Regions from separate parts of the Homo sapiens genome. Here regions 1, 2, 3, 4, 5 and 6 are each linked to region 7. Evidence: promoter capture Hi-C in 16 types of primary human blood cells and fetal thymus (Javierre and others, 2016). All regions are on one chromosome and are shown on one strand. The core of a region is centred on a gene start or on the middle of the fragment in contact, and the rest is flanking DNA. Distances in the headings are between cores, read along the strand shown.

What was found. The method cuts DNA at HindIII sites, captures the fragments that hold promoters and counts their contacts. A CHiCAGO score of 5 or more calls a contact.
Region 1: a fragment that was not itself captured here is called in contact with the fragment with the promoter of DUSP10 in region 7 in 1 of 17 cell types (naive CD4 T cells); the score reaches 5.1 in naive CD4 T cells.
Region 2: a contact is called between a fragment that was not itself captured here and the fragment with the promoter of DUSP10 in region 7, in 1 of 17 cell types (naive CD4 T cells). The highest score is 5.2, in naive CD4 T cells.
Region 3: a fragment that was not itself captured here is called in contact with the fragment with the promoter of DUSP10 in region 7 in 13 of 17 cell types (naive CD4 T cells, naive CD8 T cells, megakaryocytes and 10 more); the score reaches 13.7 in naive CD4 T cells.
Region 4: a fragment that was not itself captured here is called in contact with the fragment with the promoter of DUSP10 in region 7 in 4 of 17 cell types (total CD4 T cells, naive CD4 T cells, non-activated CD4 T cells and 1 more); the score reaches 8.2 in total CD4 T cells.
Region 5: a fragment that was not itself captured here is called in contact with the fragment with the promoter of DUSP10 in region 7 in 1 of 17 cell types (neutrophils); the score reaches 6.9 in neutrophils.
Region 6: a contact is called between a fragment that was not itself captured here and the fragment with the promoter of DUSP10 in region 7, in 1 of 17 cell types (neutrophils). The highest score is 8.8, in neutrophils.

What each region holds. Positions count from the first base shown.
Region 1 is chr1:222,584,778-222,587,477 of GRCh38, reverse strand. All of the region lies in intron 2 of TAF1A (TATA-box binding protein associated factor, RNA polymerase I subunit A), which reads left to right. Among named protein-coding and RNA genes, the nearest start is that of TAF1A-AS1, 3.8 kb to the left of the region's middle. The HindIII fragment of the contact is 566 bases long and covers 1,113-1,678 here.
Region 2 is chr1:222,645,111-222,647,810 of GRCh38, reverse strand. MIA3 (MIA SH3 domain ER export factor 3) reads right to left here. Exons shown (of 28, transcript NM_198551.4): 7 at 2,126-2,257. Among named protein-coding and RNA genes, the nearest start is that of MIA3, 28 kb to the right of the region's middle. The HindIII fragment of the contact is 1,853 bases long and covers 454-2,306 here.
Region 3 is chr1:222,455,868-222,458,567 of GRCh38, reverse strand. No RefSeq gene overlaps it. Among named protein-coding and RNA genes, the nearest start is that of TRT-TGT2-1, 7.8 kb to the left of the region's middle. The HindIII fragment of the contact is 5,503 bases long and covers 1-2,700 here.
Region 4 is chr1:222,415,529-222,418,228 of GRCh38, reverse strand. No RefSeq gene overlaps it. Among named protein-coding and RNA genes, the nearest start is that of TRT-TGT2-1, 48 kb to the left of the region's middle. The HindIII fragment of the contact is 917 bases long and covers 863-1,779 here.
Region 5 is chr1:220,888,730-220,891,429 of GRCh38, reverse strand. No RefSeq gene overlaps it. Among named protein-coding and RNA genes, the nearest start is that of HLX-AS1, 9.9 kb to the right of the region's middle. The HindIII fragment of the contact is 1,675 bases long and covers 560-2,234 here.
Region 6 is chr1:220,789,971-220,792,670 of GRCh38, reverse strand. MTARC1 (mitochondrial amidoxime reducing component 1) reads right to left here. Exons shown (of 7, transcript NM_022746.4): 2 at 1,007-1,180. Among named protein-coding and RNA genes, the nearest start is that of MTARC1, 4.4 kb to the right of the region's middle. The HindIII fragment of the contact is 3,670 bases long and covers 1-2,700 here.
Region 7 is chr1:221,740,665-221,743,364 of GRCh38, reverse strand. It overlaps DUSP10 (dual specificity phosphatase 10), which reads left to right and starts at 1,276. Exons shown (of 4, transcript NM_007207.6): 1 at 1,276-1,384. RefSeq lists silencers at 40-519, 2,240-2,289 and enhancers at 293-930, 740-939, 1,270-1,459, 931-1,568, 1,569-2,206 and 1 more. The HindIII fragment of the contact is 7,400 bases long and covers 1-2,700 here.

The sequences.
Region 1 (2,700 bases), core at 146-2,645, 840 kb before region 7:
GGCTCCTAAAATTTCGCTTCCATTTTTTTCTTTTGATCTAAGTATCATCCCATTTAATGATCTCAGTAAATTCTCAATAAATTTTTATGCTAGGCAGTTTAGGTAGGATGAAACTGAATCTCAAAGACATTAAACTCTTAAGTGGTATCAGGAGTCAAATCCAGGTTTGTCTGATCTCAAAGCTTACACTTTTAACGACTGAGATGCATTTTTAAAAATGAGACAATATATGTAAAGTACCTAGCATAGTATCTCATGCATAATGAGTGTTGAAAAATAATAGTGCCTTTCCTCTCCTCATTTTATTTTTGCTAGATTAATGCACATGGCTTAAGGCAGATTTGAATGAATGATACTTCAGAGGTAGTGCTACCGCATCCCTGGTAGGGAACAAACTAGTAATTTAAATTTCCTATAGTTAAGTCATACTTGGGTATGTTTCTGTTACCAGTGTTCTATAGAAAGTCTGAGTCAGTCTGCAAGCAGATAGGTTTAAGACCAAAGACCAAAATTTACATGCTTAGGAATATTTTATATGTCATGGATAGCCTGTTAAACCGAAAATACTTTTGGTCTGCAATGAGAAAATACTTGCAATTAATATTGACATTGTGCTGGTAATTAACCATAATAGGAAAACAAAATTGCCTAACAATTGTTCTATTTATTTTTTATGCTGGTAGATATCTTTTGGCTTTTTGAAGGGCATGCCCAGCAACCCCCTTAGAATAAAAACTTTGAAGACAGGGCCAGTCTGGATTGAAGCTGTATGATGAGTACCTGCGATAGTGCTTGGGACACAGTGGTGCCCAAAAAATACTTGTTGACAGATTGATAAGTTTCCAGATTCTTTGAGTAGCATATTAGAAGTTAGGTTGATGACACTAGTTCTTTATTGTACATCTCTATTCCATGTAAAAATGTGTTTTCCTTGACAATTTTTTTTTCTTAAAGTCATCAGGATCAAGTAAGACTATCTTTTGCTCATTAAAGAATGAAATGAGAGGAGAACTTTTCCTGAGGTAGCTAGGCTAGGTTGGAAGACAAAAGTATTTTCCAAACATTTAGGTATAGTTATCTAAAGTCAATTTATAATCTCAGTTGTGAAAGCTTGAGCGATAGAAGGGAGCTTAGCCTGAGAACAGTTCTCTCCTTTAGGTAAATAAGGGATGTTTTAAGGACGAGGTGTTTTGTCAGTTTCCTAGGCTAGCTGGCAGGTATTGCCACTGATGCCGAGCAGCTTTGGTGTAGATCTTATAAAATGCAGCTTCTGATTGAGAGAGCTGGGCATAGTACTCTGTAGTTGTAATGAGATTCCAGGTGATACTTCTGCTGCATGCCAGGACCACATTGAGTAGCAAGGGCAGGTCCCCAGGTGATTTGTATGTACATTCAAAAGTCTGAGAACACTAGTCTAGCACAGTAGTCTTCAAACTTTTCACTTTTGTATCCCCTAGTTTTTTCTGAAAAATTGAGTACTACCTTGCATAGTTTTAAGGAATCATCTGAAAAAATTTTATTGTATGTTTAATATTTGCAAGAGATAAAATTTCCAGCATGTTGGTATTTTTAAATGACTATATATTACTTTATATGTGATGGAGTCCAAATAGCACAGGAATGGCATAGGGTTTTAATACCTTGCGTTATTCATTTTAAAAAAAATTATGAACAAGCTTTTAATAGATGGACATTTTATGTTCCTCTTTGTTGTACTTCTTGCAATAAAAGTATGTATCAATATTTATACTTTTTTTGTTTATATCCTGTAAGTTTTAAGAATTAAAACTTTTTCTAGGTTGAGACATTGCTATCATTAATAGTTGTACACAGCTGATCAATATAACGTGTATTAAACGTGTTGTTGGCCAGGTGTGGTGGCTCATGCTCATAATCCCAGCACTTTGGGAGGCCAAAAGGAAGGATCACTTGAACCCAGGAGGTCTAGGCTATGGTGAGCTGTGATTGTGCTAGTGCGGTCCAGCCTGGGTGACAGAGCAAGACTCTTTTTTTTTTTTTTTTAATAAAGTTATCTAAAACTTTTCCCCAATTTTTTATGTATTTGTGGGTGACTTTTATGTATTTCTAGAATGAGAAAACATTTAGCATTGATTCTGCTATTTTTTTTAATTGACATAAATTCTGAGAAACCTTAGTCACATAAGTAAGTAGATGGCAGTGAATGGAGTTTAATTATAGCCGTGTATCAGGTCTGTGAATTTTTTCTAAATTATTGATGAAAAATTGCATAATGATTTATTGTAAAAAATTACGTTGTTCTGCAGTTTTGATGAGCAAAGAATTGGGAATTGCCTAACTTGCAAAAGGAGATGTTAGAGTTATTTACTTTTTCAACACCTGTGTTTTCACCTTCAGATAGTGTGTAATGATTTTGATTGTGAAGCTTTGACTATGTAGGCACAGCTGTCTAGGAGATTAACTTGTGGAAAGAGTATGTAAGGAAATCAAATATCTGCAAGTTAATTGTTTTAAAAGTATCTTTGTAAAGTACCTGTTGGTCTTTGTGTACTTACTGGGGTACAATTACCCAGCTGGACTAGAGGGGTCTCATAGTTACGTGGGAAGATAAGAAGATGTAGCAATGTAACTAGTCATTCATATAATAGCACTGTATCTAAGCCCAAATGTTCTTAACATTGGGATTGCCAATACTTTAGAGATATAAATGCTAATTTTTGC
Region 2 (2,700 bases), core at 131-2,630, 900 kb before region 7:
GTCATGGCCTTGCTAATTCCTCTGCTCCATTTCACCCAAACTAACAGGCAAGCAGAGACCAAGGTTCCAAAAGTCAAGTGCTGAGGCTGAGGAACAGCAGTTAGGACACAGAGCCTATATAACTTTCTGAAAAACGAAAAAGGCGTTAGAATTTTTTTATTAACAAATAGGAGAAACAAGAGTGGGAAATGTAAAATGTTTTCAACTTTTCCCCTTCCATTTACCCTTTGATTCTCCCTTTTTATCTGAAGAAAAGCACCAGGAGGTTAGAGAAGGCCTCACAGGAAAAAAGACCCTTCTTTTTAAGTAATTTTACAATCAATTGTGAGAGAAAATTTATTAATGATGATATATGTGATATAATTATGAAATCAGAAAAAGAGTACTCAGTTTTAGAAAGATTTGCATCCAATAATTTTGGCCATTTTAACTGTGAAGTTTCAATACAAAGCTTTTCATCTGCAAAGCTCATTTACACAAATAATCTTCTCCCAATTATGTTAAATAACTATGCAGCTGAATGCTATATAGTATAATCATAAGGATGTACAAGTATGAGTATACACACTTATACAAACATGTTTAAGTCTGAAAGGCAAATTCTGCACAGAAGATAAAAAAATTAACGGTGTGTCTTTACACATGATATAATTTGCATTTCGAAATAAAAAGATATTTTCTGAGTAAAATAGTACATGATGAAATCAGAAAATCTGGAAAATACACATTTTTTAAAAACTGAAAACTTACCTCATCTCCTAGATATAAGAATTTTTATCATTTTATTGTATTTCCTTGCAGCATTTATTTTCTGTGTGTATGTTTATGTAATATACAGTTTATCTATACCTTAAAGTCTTGGTTTCTACTTTTTTTCTACTTCATGTTAAATTGTGAGTATTTGTTGTGCTCCTATGTCTTTGAATTATATAAAGCAGCCTAATATCCCATTATATGAACATACAATAATTTAACAATTTTCCCACTGTGAATCACAGTAGGTTGTGTCAAAGTTTTCACTCTAATAAATACTGTTCTACTGAATGCTCTCATGTAAGATATTTAAAACTTTTTTTTGAGACAGAGTCTCACTTTGTCGCCTAGGCTGGAGTGCAGTGGCATGATCTGCTTCCCCAGTTCAAGCGATTCTCCTGCCTCAGCCTCCCAAGTAGCTGGGATTACAGGCTCCTGCCACCACCCCCGGCTAAGTTTTGTATTTTTAGTAGAGATGGGGTTTTGTCTTGTTGGTCAGGCTGGTCTCAAACTCCTGGCCTTATGTGATCCACCCGCCTCCGCCTCCCAAAGTGCTGGTATTACAGGTGTGAGCCACCACGCCCGGCCATGTAAGATATTTAATGCATGATTGGTTATTTCTTTCTTTCTTTTTTTTTTTTTTTGAGATGGAGTCTCACTCTGTCACCCAGGCTGGAGTGCAGTGGCACATCTCAGCTCACTGCAGCCTCCGCCTCCCAGGTTCAAGCGATTCTCTGCCTCAGCATCCCGAGTAGCTGGGATTACAGGCATGTGCCACAACACCTGGCTAATTTTCGTATTTTTAGAAGAGATGGGGTTTCATCATGTTGGCTAAGCTGGTCTCGAACTCCTGGCCTCAAGTGATCCGCCTGCCTCGGACTCTCAAAGTGCTGGGATTACAGGTGTGAGCCACTGTGCCGGCTGACTGGTTATTTCTTTAGGATCGATTACTAGACATGACATTAATACAATATAAAAGGATATAACCATTTTTAAGGCTTATCATACACATCATGAAACTATTTTTCAGGATGGCTCTAAGAATTCCTAGTTCTACTAACAGTGTACATATGACCTATCTAATTCTTTCTTTTCATCCTTTGTGAGTTGAAATACAGACCCACCTAATTCTTAAAATTTAGACTTTGATATGAGACATATAAACTGAAGTTTTCCCACTGAGATTATACATGTTGTCTTATTCACTTAAGAATTTACCAACACAAAAATTATACTAAATTATTTTACAAGGTTAGCTTGAATTAAAAGCATTAATTTCTGTTCATATTAGAAACTGAAAAAGAAACAAAAGGACTGTGATTATAAAACCATACTTGAATTTATGAGTTAAAGTATGCATTAATTTACTCACAACAAGGACAGTTCTCCATAAGAAAATGGCAAACGAAGCAATTCCCAAGAAGGCAGTGATAAATACAGGTTTCCATGGCAGTCCATAAAAATCAGGCCCAGGCTGAACATCATCAGGCAATGTAGCAACTAGCTGAATGTTAGAAATAATGTTAGAAATAATGAGAAACCTTAAAGAAGCTTACCATAAAGCAGTCACAAAGACTCATTCACAGAAATTCTAAACCAACTCTATCAGATACCTATCCCCTCAAAAATCTTCAGTAGCTCTCACTGCTTTAAGAAAAACAGGATACTGGGAGTCTCATACTTATTGTTTGGCCTGTGGTGTTTTGAAGTACTATGACTCTAAATGTCTTTAGGTTGGGCATATATTTCTAGTTTCAATAGGCCCTGATACAATATGTTATCTAAAACATGGCTGGAATCTCTCTGCATCATACTTTTGTCTTGAATAAATTGGTTTTTATTGCTTAAAAAACCACATAAGACAAAAAACCTTTTATATACAAGTAACTAACTTTTTATGGCTGCAAATAAAACCAATATGATGATAATGAATATCACAAATAACGT
Region 3 (2,700 bases), core at 128-2,627, 720 kb before region 7:
CCAAAATAAACTCTTTTGACTCCATGTCTCACATGCAGGTCACATTGGTGTGAGGAGTGCTCTCCCCAGGCCTTGGGCAGCTCTGCCTCTATGACTTTGCAGGGTTCAGCCTCCATGGTTGCTCTCACAGGGTGGCATTGACTGTGGCTTTTCCAGGCACATAGTGCAAGCTGTTGGTGGCTCTAACATTCTGGGGTCTGGAGGACGGTGGCTCTCTTTGTGCAGCTCCACTAAGCAGTACCCCAGTGGGGACTCTTTGTGGAGGCTCCAACTCAACATTTCTCCTTCATACTGCCCTAGTAGAGGTTCTCCATGAGGCTTCTGCCCCTGCTGCAGGCTTCTGCCTGGACATCCAGGCTTTTCTATATATCCTCTGAAATCTAGGTGGAGGCTCCCAAGCCTCAATCCTTGCACTCTGTGCACCTGCAGGCTTAATATCACATGGAAATTGCCAAGGCTTATGACTTGCACCCTCTGAAGCAGTGGCCTGTACTATATCCCTTTGAGCCATGCCTGAAGTTGGAGTGGCTGGGATGTGGAGAGCAGTGTCCTGAGGCTGCATAGGGCAGCAGAGTCCCCGGGCCTAACCCATAAAAGCATTCTTTCCTCCTAGGTCCCTGGGCCTATGATGGGAGGGGCTGCTGCAAAGGTCTCTGAAATGCCTTTGAGGCCTTTTCTCCATTGCCTTGGCTATTAGCACTTGGATCCTTTATATTTATGCAAATTTCTGCAGCCTGCTTAAATTCCTCCCTGAAAACGGGCTTTTCTTTTCTACCACACAGCCAAGCTGCAAATTTTCCAAACTTTTATGCTCTGTTTCCCATTTAAATATCAGTTCCAACTTCAGGTCATTTCTTTGCTCATACATATGAGCATAGGCTGTTAGAAGCAGCCAGGTCACATCTTGAACACTTTACTGCTTAGAAATTTCTTCTGCCAGATATCCTAAATTACCACTCTCAAGTTCAAAGTCCCACAGATCTCTAGAGCAGGGGCATAATGCAGCTAAGCTGTCTGATAAGGCATAGCAAAGGTTACCTTTACTCATTCCCAATAAGTTCCTCATTTCCATCTGAGACATCTTCAGGCTGGACTTCACTGTCCACGTCACTGTCAGCATTTTAATCACAACCATTAAACAACTCTCTAGGATGTTCCAAACCTTCCCTCAACTTCCTGTCTTCTAGCCCTCCACATTCTTCCAACCTCTGCCTATTTCCCAGTTTCAAAGTTGCTTTCACATTTTTGGGTATCTTTATAGCAATATCCTACTCCTGGTACCAATTTTCTGTATTAGGCTATTCTCATATTGCCACAAACAAACACCCAAGATTGGGTAATTTATAAAGAAAAGAGGTTTAATTGGCTCATGGTTCCACAGACTGTACAGGAAGCACAATGCTGGCATCTGCTTGGCTTCTGGGAAGACCTCAGGAAACTTACAATTATGGCAGAAGGCAAATGGGGAGCAGATATGTCTTCACGGTAGGAGCAGGAGCAAAAGAGAAAGAGAAGGGAGGTGCCACATACTTTTAAACAACCAGATCTCATGAGAACTCAGTATCTTGAGGACAGTACCAAGGGGGAAATCTGCCCCCATGATCCAATCCCACCTCACACCAGGCCCCACCTCCAACATTGGGGATTACATGAGATTTGGGTGGGGACACAGATCCAAACCATGGCAAAAAGCTACCCAAGTGATTTTAATGTGCAGCCAGAGTTGAGTACCATTGCTCTGACAAAATTTTTTATCTTATATATGAACAAGAAGAGACTTCAAGAGCTTAAGTAACTGACCCCAAATAAAGGCCATACAGTCAATTACTGGCCAAGACTCTGGCCCGCTCTATTCCCCTATTGGAAAACCTCCACAGCAGTCACACTTTGGGTCAATTTCTTACAGAGGATAGCTACAGTCTTTATGTCTTTAAATCTAAATCTAGATATATTATTTGAATAGTGCTAGCATACTCTGGCAGAACTTTTGAGAGTGAGGACTGTTCCAGAACTATCTGTGCTATGTGACCTCAGGATCTGGAGGTGGTGACAGGCTCAGATTTTACAGTCAGGAAAGTCTGGTTTCAAATGGTAGTTCAGCCACTGACAGCTCTGCACCCTTGGCCAAGTTACTTGGCATCTCTGATCTTCAGTTTCCTTGTAATGTGAATGTTTTGTCAACACAGACTGGTTTCTTGGTTGTGAAGACTAAATAAGATAAGGCCATAAAAGTCTCAGCACGTAATTAGTGCCTTTTAGGAAGCCGATGACTTATCCATTAGCTGGTGGTGCAATTTTACCTTTTAAATGATAGCAGTACTAGTAATTATTACTGTTGTTGTTCTTCTTATATTCCATGTATTTGCCTTCCAGATAGGTGGTTCTTAAGCAGAGGTGATTTTGTACCCCCAGGAAACATTTGGCAATGTCTATAGGTATTTTGATTGTTATAACAGGGGTGGAGGTTTGGGGACAGTGGTGGGGTGCCAGTGACACCAGTGGGTAGAGGCCAAGGATACTACTAAATGCTCATAATGCGCAGGCAGCCTCCCAACAACAAAGACCTATCTGACCCGATGGTGCGAAGGTCAAGAGACTCTGCTGTAGATATCTGTAAGTAATTGGGAGCTTGAGGGCCCAGAGCCACTGGGTGGTGACAGGATGATAATTCTCAATTTTTGCTATTGTGTGGCAAGGGGG
Region 4 (2,700 bases), core at 72-2,571, 670 kb before region 7:
TAAGCCACTATGGGCAAAAGAGAAAATGGATTTACAAATAACAGTTACATGATAATAATGATGATGATACATATTGCTACATCTTTTACTCCAGACCAAAGATGATAGAACATGGCATTATATTGCTCGCTGCTGCCCACACCACCTTAAAAACAATAATGTAAATGGCTGGAAAGAGCCCTGAGTTGGCAGTCAGCAGTATTCTGGTTCTCCTTGCCAAGTGTCTTCAACTATAACTATCTTTACCTATCCTTTGCACATTTCTCTACTTCACCTTGCTTTCCCCACCTGTAAAATTAGGATAATTTTGCCTAGACTTCATCCTCTATAACAGGATGGATGAACCATATTGCAGATGTGACGCACTTGAAGGAACTATTGGATAGACAAGATGATAACAAACATCTCTGGCTGCTTGGGCATGTGAGAGGGAATATTTGGGAGATATCATTAGTTGATATTTTATAATATTTTATGAAGTATTTTCAAATGGATTCTTCCTTTGTGTGTCCCAAACTATTATATGTGCCTGCCTTTTACACATCAGGAAATGGAGGCTCTTGCTCAGGTCCTATAACTGGTAAAACACAGAGTTGCATATAGCTTCTGACTCTGGAACACTTATCCTTATCCCTGCATGATGCTCCTCCTCTTATGTAAGGCCCAGGTTAAGTCTTGGACTTTATCCCAATTTAAGTATTCTGTGTTTTGGCCAACTGCGTGGGTGTTTCATTTCTGTGTTCTCTGTTTCACTACAGTATGGGAAAGTTTATCTTTCACTTTTGTTTTTGGGCGGGAGGAACAGCTCCCCAGTTGGGGTCTGAGCCCCTGCACTGGGCAGTAACACAAGACTCAAGAAGCTTCTCACATAGCATCATTATCAACGCCAGAGTACAGTCTTTAATGCTATCTCATGACCAATATCATAAAGGTAACTGCGATTCTACCATGCCTTAGGTGAGAGATGAGGAGTAAACAGAGTGTTGGTTCATGGCACCCAAACCTTTGGGTTTACCCTCATCTTTCATTGTAATATTGTTTTATTAAGAATAAAATTGGAAACAATCTACATGTCCATCAAGAGGGATGGGTTAATATCTCATAGAATTGTTGAAGGGCTTGAAGACTAAATACATATAAGGTCTTAGAATAATGCCTAGCACATGTTAAATGCTCAATCCATGTTAGCTATTATTTTTAGAGTTATGAATAAAGAGGAATGACTATATTTGAACTCTGCCAGAACCACATGTCTATACACAGAATAAACTCAGGGCTTTATTTCCAGGTCTGCCTTCACTTGAGCCTAAAGTGATAGGTGATGACAGGACTCAGGCTCAATGATTCTGCCTGTCTCTTTCCCCTTCATGACTACAGATGGCAACCACTTTGTCTTTTAGTAAGGTAGAAGATGTTGTGAAGGTCAGGTAAATGGCATTTCCAAACTGTTTATTTCAGATTGAGGACAAACTAAGTATGACATAATAAAAATTTTATCTGGCCTTGTCTCTTGTCCCTAGTTCTTGGCACAGAGATTCAGAAACCTTCAGAATTTCCTGAGTGATAGGCATATCCTTTCTGTGCTAGATAGCTTCAAGGTGGAGACTAGTCACCAGAAAAACCCAGCATGTGGTTAGGGGGTTGGAGCTTTGGAACAGCTTGACTCTGAGGAAGAGAAGGGGCTGAAGATTGAGTTCAATCATGTGGCCAATGATTTAGTCAATCATACCTTTGTAATCAAACCCCAGTGAAAACTATGGCCACTAATGCTATGAAGCTTCCTGGTTGATGAATGCATTGATGGGCCAAGGGTGATGTGCTCTGATTCCACAGGAAGAGGACATGGAATTCCTGCACTCTTCCCCAGACCTTACCCTATCTGAATCCTTTGTAATAAAACTGTAATGATAAGCATAGCACTTTCCTGAGTTCTGTGAGTCATTCTAGCAAATTATCAAATGTGAAAAGATCATGGGAAGCCTTGAATTTGTGGCCAGCTCATCAGAAGTGTGGGTGGCCTGGGGATTCCCAGAATTTGTGGCTGCCGTATGAAGTAAGGGCAATCTTGTGGAGGACTGAGGCTTTACACCTGTGGAGTCTGATGCTAACTCTGAGTGATTAGTCTCAGAATTGAATTATATTGTAGTATACCCAGTTAGGGTGGAAAGAGAGTACGCAGTCACCTGGTTTAACCAATCATTAGCAAAATCTCATATTCTCTCTTCCATCATCTGAAAAGCCTCATTTCACTACCATTGTTATCTAGGACAGAGTAACCCAAACCAGAGGCTGGAAATATCTGGCTGTTACCATGCACCCTATTGCCCTCACTTGTTCTCATCCTATGCCCTTTGATGCTTGTGAAAAATTATGAGCAAAAATGATGGCAAAACCACTTAAATGCCATCATTTTTTCATTTGTACTCAGGAATTCTGCTCACGCATCACATGCAGTCTTTCTTGGTGTACAAATTGCGGTAATTGGTTTTCCTCATTTTCTTTCTTCCCACTGACTTTCCTCGACTAGGGACCACCAAGGACACATCCTTTCTGAATAACAATTTCACTTCCAAGACCGCCCAATCTGTCAGACTTGGAGCTCACACAAAAGTTTAAATGCAACTCATTAATTTTAAGACACTTAACTCTTCCTCACTGCTTAGATTTTTAAGGAATGCAAATTGCACTTTATTTCAAAGC
Region 5 (2,700 bases), core at 148-2,647, 850 kb after region 7:
CACCTACAACGATGCCCAAATGGTACGCAGACCAGAGTTTCGGCCGCCTGCATCGAGTCCTGCTTGTGAACGCGTTCTCTTGCCTCTCTGTGATGACCTTAGCATCGGGGATCCTAATGGGTCCTCGACCAGATGATTCGCAGCTCCAGGTCCACTCCCGGGGTTACTACCTGGTACTTCTGGGTCGTGTTGCACAGCCTCCTACTGTGTTTATAATGCTACCTACCCTGCGATGCTATAAATAACCACAAGGGCCACAATAATTATACTTGTCGTTCATTCAGTAAACACTTTTGGGGGTGCATTTCCTGTGCCAAGCACTGAGCTAGGTGCTAGAGCTTCTCCAACCATGCAGCAGAGTCCAGCCCTGCTCTCAAGAAGCCGAGGGTGCCTTTTTCCTCGAAGGAATCGTTAATCTCCTGTTTCCGTTTCGAGGGCCCTCCCTCATTGTGATTAGTTAAAAACTTAATAAAACTCCCCAAGTGCTATTTGTCCCAACATAATCTCAACAGCTGGAACATAATTTTCCCTTCTGTGCCCCTGGACACTTGCTTAAGCTTCAGAAAACTAAGTATCAGAAAACTAACTTCTTCCTTTCTAACTCCCATGAGTAAGTCCCCACCACACCCACAAGCATTGTATGGCCTGCCTGCTGTGAAATTTGCAGACTGAGGTGCTCCTGTGCATAGTGCCAGGAGCATCAAGATGAAGAAGGCCTTCCAAATGCAGCAACCCCTGACCTAGCCAGGCAGCACATCCTAACTCTCTGGGCTACTCCTTAAAGGATTTCCTGGTGACAAGGCATCCTCATTTTCATCTAATGATATAATTTCTTGGAGAGTAAAGGTTGTCTTGCATTCTTTTTTTCTCTATGGTGCAAACACTCACAAGGATCCCCATAAATACTGCAATGAAAAAAATGAATGGATGAAGGAATGCAGTAACATCGAAGCCTATAGCATTAATTGTATACCAGCCACTGTTCTCATTTTGGCTTTTTTTTTTTAACTGTCATGAAGTCTTACACCAATTTATGAGTTACATACCTTTGATTATATCCCATTTCACCGAGAAAACAAACCAAGTGATTAGATGAATTTTCCAAGGTCATGTAGCTAGTTATTGGTGGGTGAGGGAATGAATGAATGAATGCCTCTGGGGTTAGTTCAGACCTCCTATGCTGGGCTGGGATCAGGCCCGCTTTTTCCTGCACACTCCTCCTGCCGGTCTCCTCGAATAACCCCCCCAACCCAGAGAGTCGTTGAGGGTCTCCAGAGAGGCAAGTTCGGAGCGCATGTCAGGCGATGCTGCCGCTGCCACTTCCAAGGTCTCTTTCTGGTTCCTCGTGTGTTGCGCAGGGTGGACTGTGCTAGAGGTGAGGCTTACTATCTGCCATGGCTTCAGCTGAATCTGAGGCTAGAGGAAGAAACAAGGATCCAGCGCAGGGGCTGCCACGCAGGCATGATTGGGCCTCGATCTCCACATTCTGCCCAGAATCCTAAGTGTCAGCAATGATCAATGGAAGTCAAAAAGCACCATGGATGTCGCTTCCTTTCGTGAGCACAGTGTGGCTGGGATCCTACACACTATTAGCAAAGCTAACATTGCTATTAGGTCAGTGCAGGGTGGAGAGCAGGGTATCAACCCAATGGAGTCCCAGACCTGCGACTCCCAGACCCCTCAGGAACCACCAAGGGGAAAGAGAAGGAGCTAATGGGAGCCCAACATCCCAGGCAGTGGTTGAACCTCATGCTCTTTTTGAAAACCTATTGAGCTTTGATAATTTGGATCAGAATCTGGTTGCTCAGGAGTGTCTGGCACCAGCTTTCATGTTCCTGTGTACTGCAGGAGGCCCTGACACAAGGCCCATCCTGGTCCTTGCACTCACTCTCCAGGGCACCTTGGGCAAGTATTCTCACATCTCTCAGCCTCTGTTACTTCAACCCAAAAACGAGGAAGTTGGGAACAATCATAACTGTGGAGACTTCTATTCCTGATTTCTAAAATGACAGGGGGCAGAGACAGGGAAGGGATTAAAGGGCCAGGGGTTCTCTAAGCTCACCTGTCCTCAGGGCCCAGGGATCCTCGTGGAGGCTGCTGCTCTGTTAGAACCTGAGTTGAAGGGAATCTTAGAAAGTGCTCCCCACCCTGTGTAAGCAGTCTGGATTCCCCAAGAGTGGCTGGCAGAGGGTAGGCACTGTGGGTTGTAATATCCCAGTGTGTGAAGGGAAGCTTCAGAGAAAGCCAACTAGTTTGTCTTTGGGACGCCAGCCAATCTCATCATGACCTCAAAAATGGAGGCTGTGAGCTAGATGAGTGCATGAGTTAAATCAAAATTTCGGATTTTAAAAAATCTTCCCTAGCCCAAATACCTGTAGTTAAAATCCTCCTTAAAACTCGCATCTTCACAAATACATTGGAGTGTGCAATCAGTCCTTTCCAACTCACAAGGCTAAAGAAGGAGAATGTGATGTCCCAGCATGTTTAGGGTCCTCTTGGTCATCTTTAAAGCGGTGTCACTACATCACGTGGGGGAGGGCTGAGCTTGCCTACTTTTTCTTCTTAAGGGAGGAAGAAGCCGGAGAGGGGACTAGGATGCCTGAAAACGATGGGAGACTGCATCAACCTCAGCCTCTGACTTCTCTTCCCCCGTTTCGTGCTCCATCCAGCCCACTGAGAGTCTCAGGTAGGCGTGGGCTT
Region 6 (2,700 bases), core at 48-2,547, 950 kb after region 7:
TTTCTTTTTTTTTTTTTTCTTGGTATTTCCCAAATTTTCAACAATGAATATGTACCACTTTTCTAATCTGAAAAGCCACCAAATTCAAAAAAGTATATTATCAAGTTTAAAACTCTAAAATGTAGAAATTACATCAGTATTGCATTTTGTGAACTTTTCTGGGTCTTTAGACGTTGTTCAGATAACTACATTTTTTGAGGTGATGCTATTTTTTTATGATAGGCTATAAACTACATTCACACTGCATCTTTATTCCAAATGCAGAAACTATAACAAGAATATAACTGGACCAACTCTAATTTTCCCATAATCAGATAAGAAATCAACTCTAGACATGACTTCTTGGAGGCAAAACTAGTTTTCCTAGAAGAATTGCTTCATTGCAGCCCTTCTGATGTTGAGGGAAGGGCTTGTGTACAGAACATCCTCCTGGGTTACATCCCCAGCCTCATTCTGACACTGACCCCTGGGCAGCCGCTGGCTGGATCACTCTTCTAGCTAGAGTTGTTCTTTTCTATTTTGGAACTTCCTTTCATTAGAACTAAATCTTACGGGTCACATAGCCATTTGCAACTCCTTTCCTAACTCAGACTTGGAAGGTGCCCAGTTTTTCTAAGCCAAGAAGAAAAAGTTCTATGAGAATACGTAGATCGAGTTTCACCTCTGCTAGGACACTCGCCCCCACCACTCCCACCCCATTTTTGTGCTTGATCTTTGGGTGCTGTTATTTTTCTCTTGCTGACATGTCAATATGCTTTTGTTCTCATGGGTTTCTACATAGCACTTTCATGTCTGTCATCTCCACAACACAAGTTTCTGAAGCTGCTTCCTTCTTTCTCCTTCTTTTAGATCTTCATAATGTTGAGGACTTCATTCTGTATATGGTACACATGCAATCAACGGTTCATTATTGATATGTTTCTCAGCATTCCCTCTAGAGTTTATGCTTTCTCAAAATTGCATGACTATTCATTCACACAAGGGCTACGACCTGCCCTTTCCTTACCTGCACTTGTGCACTGCATTTGTGGTGGGCGTTTTGATAGGCAGTAGTAGGTCCTTTGTGTAGGCTGCACTGAGAGTCAGGGTGTCACCATCGCAGGTCAGGGAAATCAGGACCAGGCGAGGTTCCTGGCGAGCAGTAACCATGTTTCCCTCCTGGTTGATCACAAGCCAAAACCTGCCGTTTTCAAAACACAGGATATGTGTGAACCATTATGGCAGGAAGCCAGACCCTGGAGGAGCTTCAATTAGACACTGTTGTCATCTTTGATTTCTTCCCCATAAGCCTGGTGTGTGTGAGTTTGAGTGTGTGTGTCTGTCTGTCCTAAACATCAGCACACAGGACTGAGTCTGTCACTTAATTTCAAAGGATTTCATAACCACTCAAGCATCCAACATATATCTGGAGAACAGTTTGAGCTCTTTGATGGCACAGAAATCAAAGATGTTAATTATATTTTCATCTCAATCTCTAGAAAGCCTGATCACTTTCATTAAACATGCCCCAAGCAGATGACAAGAATCTATTTTACATGAAGACCTCAAAGGCAGGAGGAAGCACAGGGCCTGGCATCTGGTAGGCAACGGGCTCTTGTCAGTGGAAATAGCAGGACTGTTGCTTATATTGTTCACAGGGCATGGAGTTCAGCTGAGCAACACACAGTGCCACTTATACTCTGCCAGTTCCAGCCCCCCACCTTTTAAAAATTTTATGTTCCAACATTCAGTGCTGTCCATTCTGCAATTTGCTAAACTAGACAGTATTTTTTTCTTCTGGCCCAGTATTCCTGGTCTACAGGTACTTCCTAGAAAAAAAGATAAATGGAGAAATAAAGGTAATAGAAAGAGCCATTTCCAGAACAAGAACAACATGTTTTTGCAGGTTATCTCTCAGCTACCAAGGAAGCAAAACATATTGGCATTTCAATCCTTACAGTACACACTGATCAAATGATTACAATTATAGAAGTGAGCATGTGCTTTTGAGATTTCCAGACATAAGAAAAAAATATGGCCGGTACTTTAGGTCGTTCAAGATATTTCTTGCATCACTTCCAGCAGGTTATCATGGTTGAGTTGTTCAGCTACACTAGAAAAATATGCTTAGTATAAGCCCTTTCCGTAACTGCCCTTTTACCAGACTTTGTTTCTGCACAGACAGAGGCCTGCCCTGACCCAAATCCTTGGGACTAGCAGGTGAATATTCTGTCTAATATTCTTCCTGGTAATGGCAGTTTACATCGCTCTAAAATGCAAATCTAACTTTATGACCCCCTCATTCAAAATCCCTCCATGGTTCCTGCTTTCAGGATAAAACCAACTCCTAAACAAGGGCGTGCCCAGCCCTTCATGATCCAGCTGTTGCTCCAGCCATTCTTACCTCCCGAGGTCTTCACACAGGCCAGTCTTTTATATATTTATTTTTTAATTGCAGTAAAATATATATAAAACATAAAATACCTAGCACACTCCTACGTATAGACCCCAAAGAACTGAAAACAGGAACTCAAACAGACATTTGTGTATCAATGTTTATTGCAGCTTTAATCAAAATGCTGAAAAAGTAGTAACAGCCCGAGTGTCCATCAACAGAGAATGGAATTTTTTAAATGTGATTTTAACCATTTTGAAGTGTGCAATTCAGTGGCAGTAAAGTACATTCACAGTGTTGTGCAACCATCACCACTATTTGCAAAA
Region 7 (2,700 bases), core at 27-2,526:
CTCGGCTCTGGCTCTTTTCCGCCAGCTGCGGCTGTTCCAGAAGCGCCGGGCTGCCGGTCCTGGCCTCGGCAGGGGCCGTGCGGGACCGAGGGGTGGCGGCCGAGGCATGTGGGGCGGGTGGGTTGCGCGCTGCTGGCACGGCGCGGGGACCCAGCGCGCCAGGCGGGAAAGGGGGGCGGCGGCGGGCGGGGACCCAGACCCGGAGGGGCAGCGGGCGCGTAGCGGGCCCCAGGACGCCCGGCCAGGGGATTGGCCTCTGCACCGCTGCTCAGGGCGCGTCCCTTGCCGCCTCTGGCGTCGACTCAAGCCTCCTCCTCCGAGCAGCCCTCAGTGGCGCCGCCTTAGTGCTCTGGGTCGAGCCCCGGGAGGGTTAGCCTGGGGACGGCAGGGGCGTGACCGTGGCGCGGAAGTAGGTGAGCAGCAGGGCGGCGCGCGGCGGTCAGGCCGGGACAGCCAGAGGGGCAGCGACATCTGCGGGCGGGCGGGCGGGAGGCGGACGCTTCCCGGGCGGAGCAGGGCCCTCCGGAGGACGCAGGCCGCGTCGAGGCTGAAGGGCCTCCCTGTCCGGGACGGTCAGCTGCCAAGTTCGGGCCCTTAGCGCGTGGCCCCGGGCCGCGGCTCGGAGCGGAAGCGTCGCCCCTGGCTGCGCGCTCATGCTGGTCCTAGCGCAGAAGACCCGGCGAGGTCCGCGAATTTTGGCTTAGCGTTTGTCAAGTCACCTCGAGCGACTCGGAGAGAACCCGGCTTTCCCACTAGGGACGGTGATCGCAGTCTCTTTCCTTTAGAAAGTTACTCCGATACTTTTGATCATCTGTCCATAGTAAGGAGGAAAAATAGCGTGGTTTGTCCCCGGGTGAGGGAGTGTTGGAGGATCCCGTCCAGTGGGAAGAGCCAGTTTTAGCGGAGCAGCGCGTCCAGCCCGCTGACACTTCAGCCTGGTAAAGGGTTAACTGCATCCTGCCGGTTCGGTTTACATGTAAATAGAGAGCAGCTGCTCCGCGCGGCCCCGGCTGGCTCTTTTAAGTTTTTGATTGGTTGCCAATGACATCACCGCCCGTGTTTTAACACCGAGGACCCAGAGCAGCTTCGGATAAACCCTCCTTAAAGAGATGAGGCCACGCCTTCTTACCCGCCCCCTAGGCTGCCCATTGGTCGCGGGGCTCTGTGAGGTAGCGGTCGGCTTTCTCCGGATTCTTATTGGCCCAACCCGCCGTCGGTCGGCGGCGAGTCCGCCCCCTCAGAACCTTACATTTACAGTGTAGCAAAAGAGAAAGTAACTATGTTGCTGCTGGAGATCAATGAAGCCGAGTGAATGGGGGCTGAATGTGCGAGTCCATAGCTGAAGAGGAGCGCCAGATGGTGGAGGAATACACTTATTTATGAAGTAAGTGGAAGTCACCGCGACTACTCCTGAGAGCCCGGGACTGGAGGTGGAGGATTGTAAGGCGGTGCTTGTGTGAGTGTGAGTGTGTGTGTTTGTGTGTGTGTATCTGTGTGTGTGTGAGAGAGAGACAGAGACAGAAAGATAGAGATGCGATGCTGACGGAGGAGCTACAGCAGGTAGGGTTATAAGGTTCCGGCCGTTGGCTCCTGCTACCCTGTGCGTTTACTCCCTGCAGTCTACTTGGATTTGGGGCGAAGAAAAAATGAGGTTTGTTGGGATGCTTTGCGGCAGTTTTAAATGCTCGGGGCTCATTAGTGCGCTGTGTGCCGAGGAGTGAAGCGGGGGGCGGGGGGATGTTAAGTGCTCCAGGAATGGGGAAGAAGCATTCTCTAACCACTTAATTTTCTCTCCAGCTCTTGCCTAGTGGTGGAAGGGAGAGGGGATAGCTCAGTATTTCTCTGGGAGATTTTCTGGGCCAGACTGGATGGTTTCACGGGCAGTATGTACGCCCGACCCTCTGCTGCAGGGATGCAGGTCTCTCTATACACTCCGTGTGTGTGTGTGTGAGCCTTGAACTCTGTGTGGAGGTGGGGGTCCCAGCGCGTGTCTCTGTGAACACGCTTATGCGTCCCTCTCAGAAGAAATGGTATGTTGATCCTGGACGTGTCCTACCAGGTAACACAATAGCAAAGACTTTCACCGCTTGGTCCAACCGGGAAACAGTTATAGCTTCTGGAATAGAACTCGCTCTTCAGAAAAAATACTACGCAAGGGAAGGGGGGTTGACTCCTTCGCTCCCATCCAAAGGTGGGTGAGAGAAACCCGAGTCGTTGGAGATCTGCCGACGTGATGGGTGCGTGCCCCGTGTGCGCGCGTGAGTGTGGATTCCGCCTGTGACACTTTGGTTCTGTGTCAGAGAATGGTGACGGTCGTGTGTAGACGGATGAGAATGGTGACGGTCGTGTGTAGACGGATGATAGATGGCATTTTTCCTGATAGCTCTTAAAGTTCGTTTAGGTGAGCGTCTCTTGGCGTGGGGTTTGGCGTCTTTGCTATGTGCATGTCTAATAGAAGAAGAAGAGTTAGCAAGCCTGAGTTGTAGAGTGCCCCTGTGCCTACAGGAGGAAGGAGCTGTCTTTTTGCAGACACTCTGAAATCAGAGATAGATCCGGTGGGCAACAATTCACTGTCCCTTTCAACGAGTACAGGCTAATTGGGAGGTCCTCTTTACGGAATCAGTACTCTTGAAGGGGGGATATCTGTATGGGATTGAAACCTTATACAACGTGGCTGCCTCCCATTGAGAGAAGCTCTAG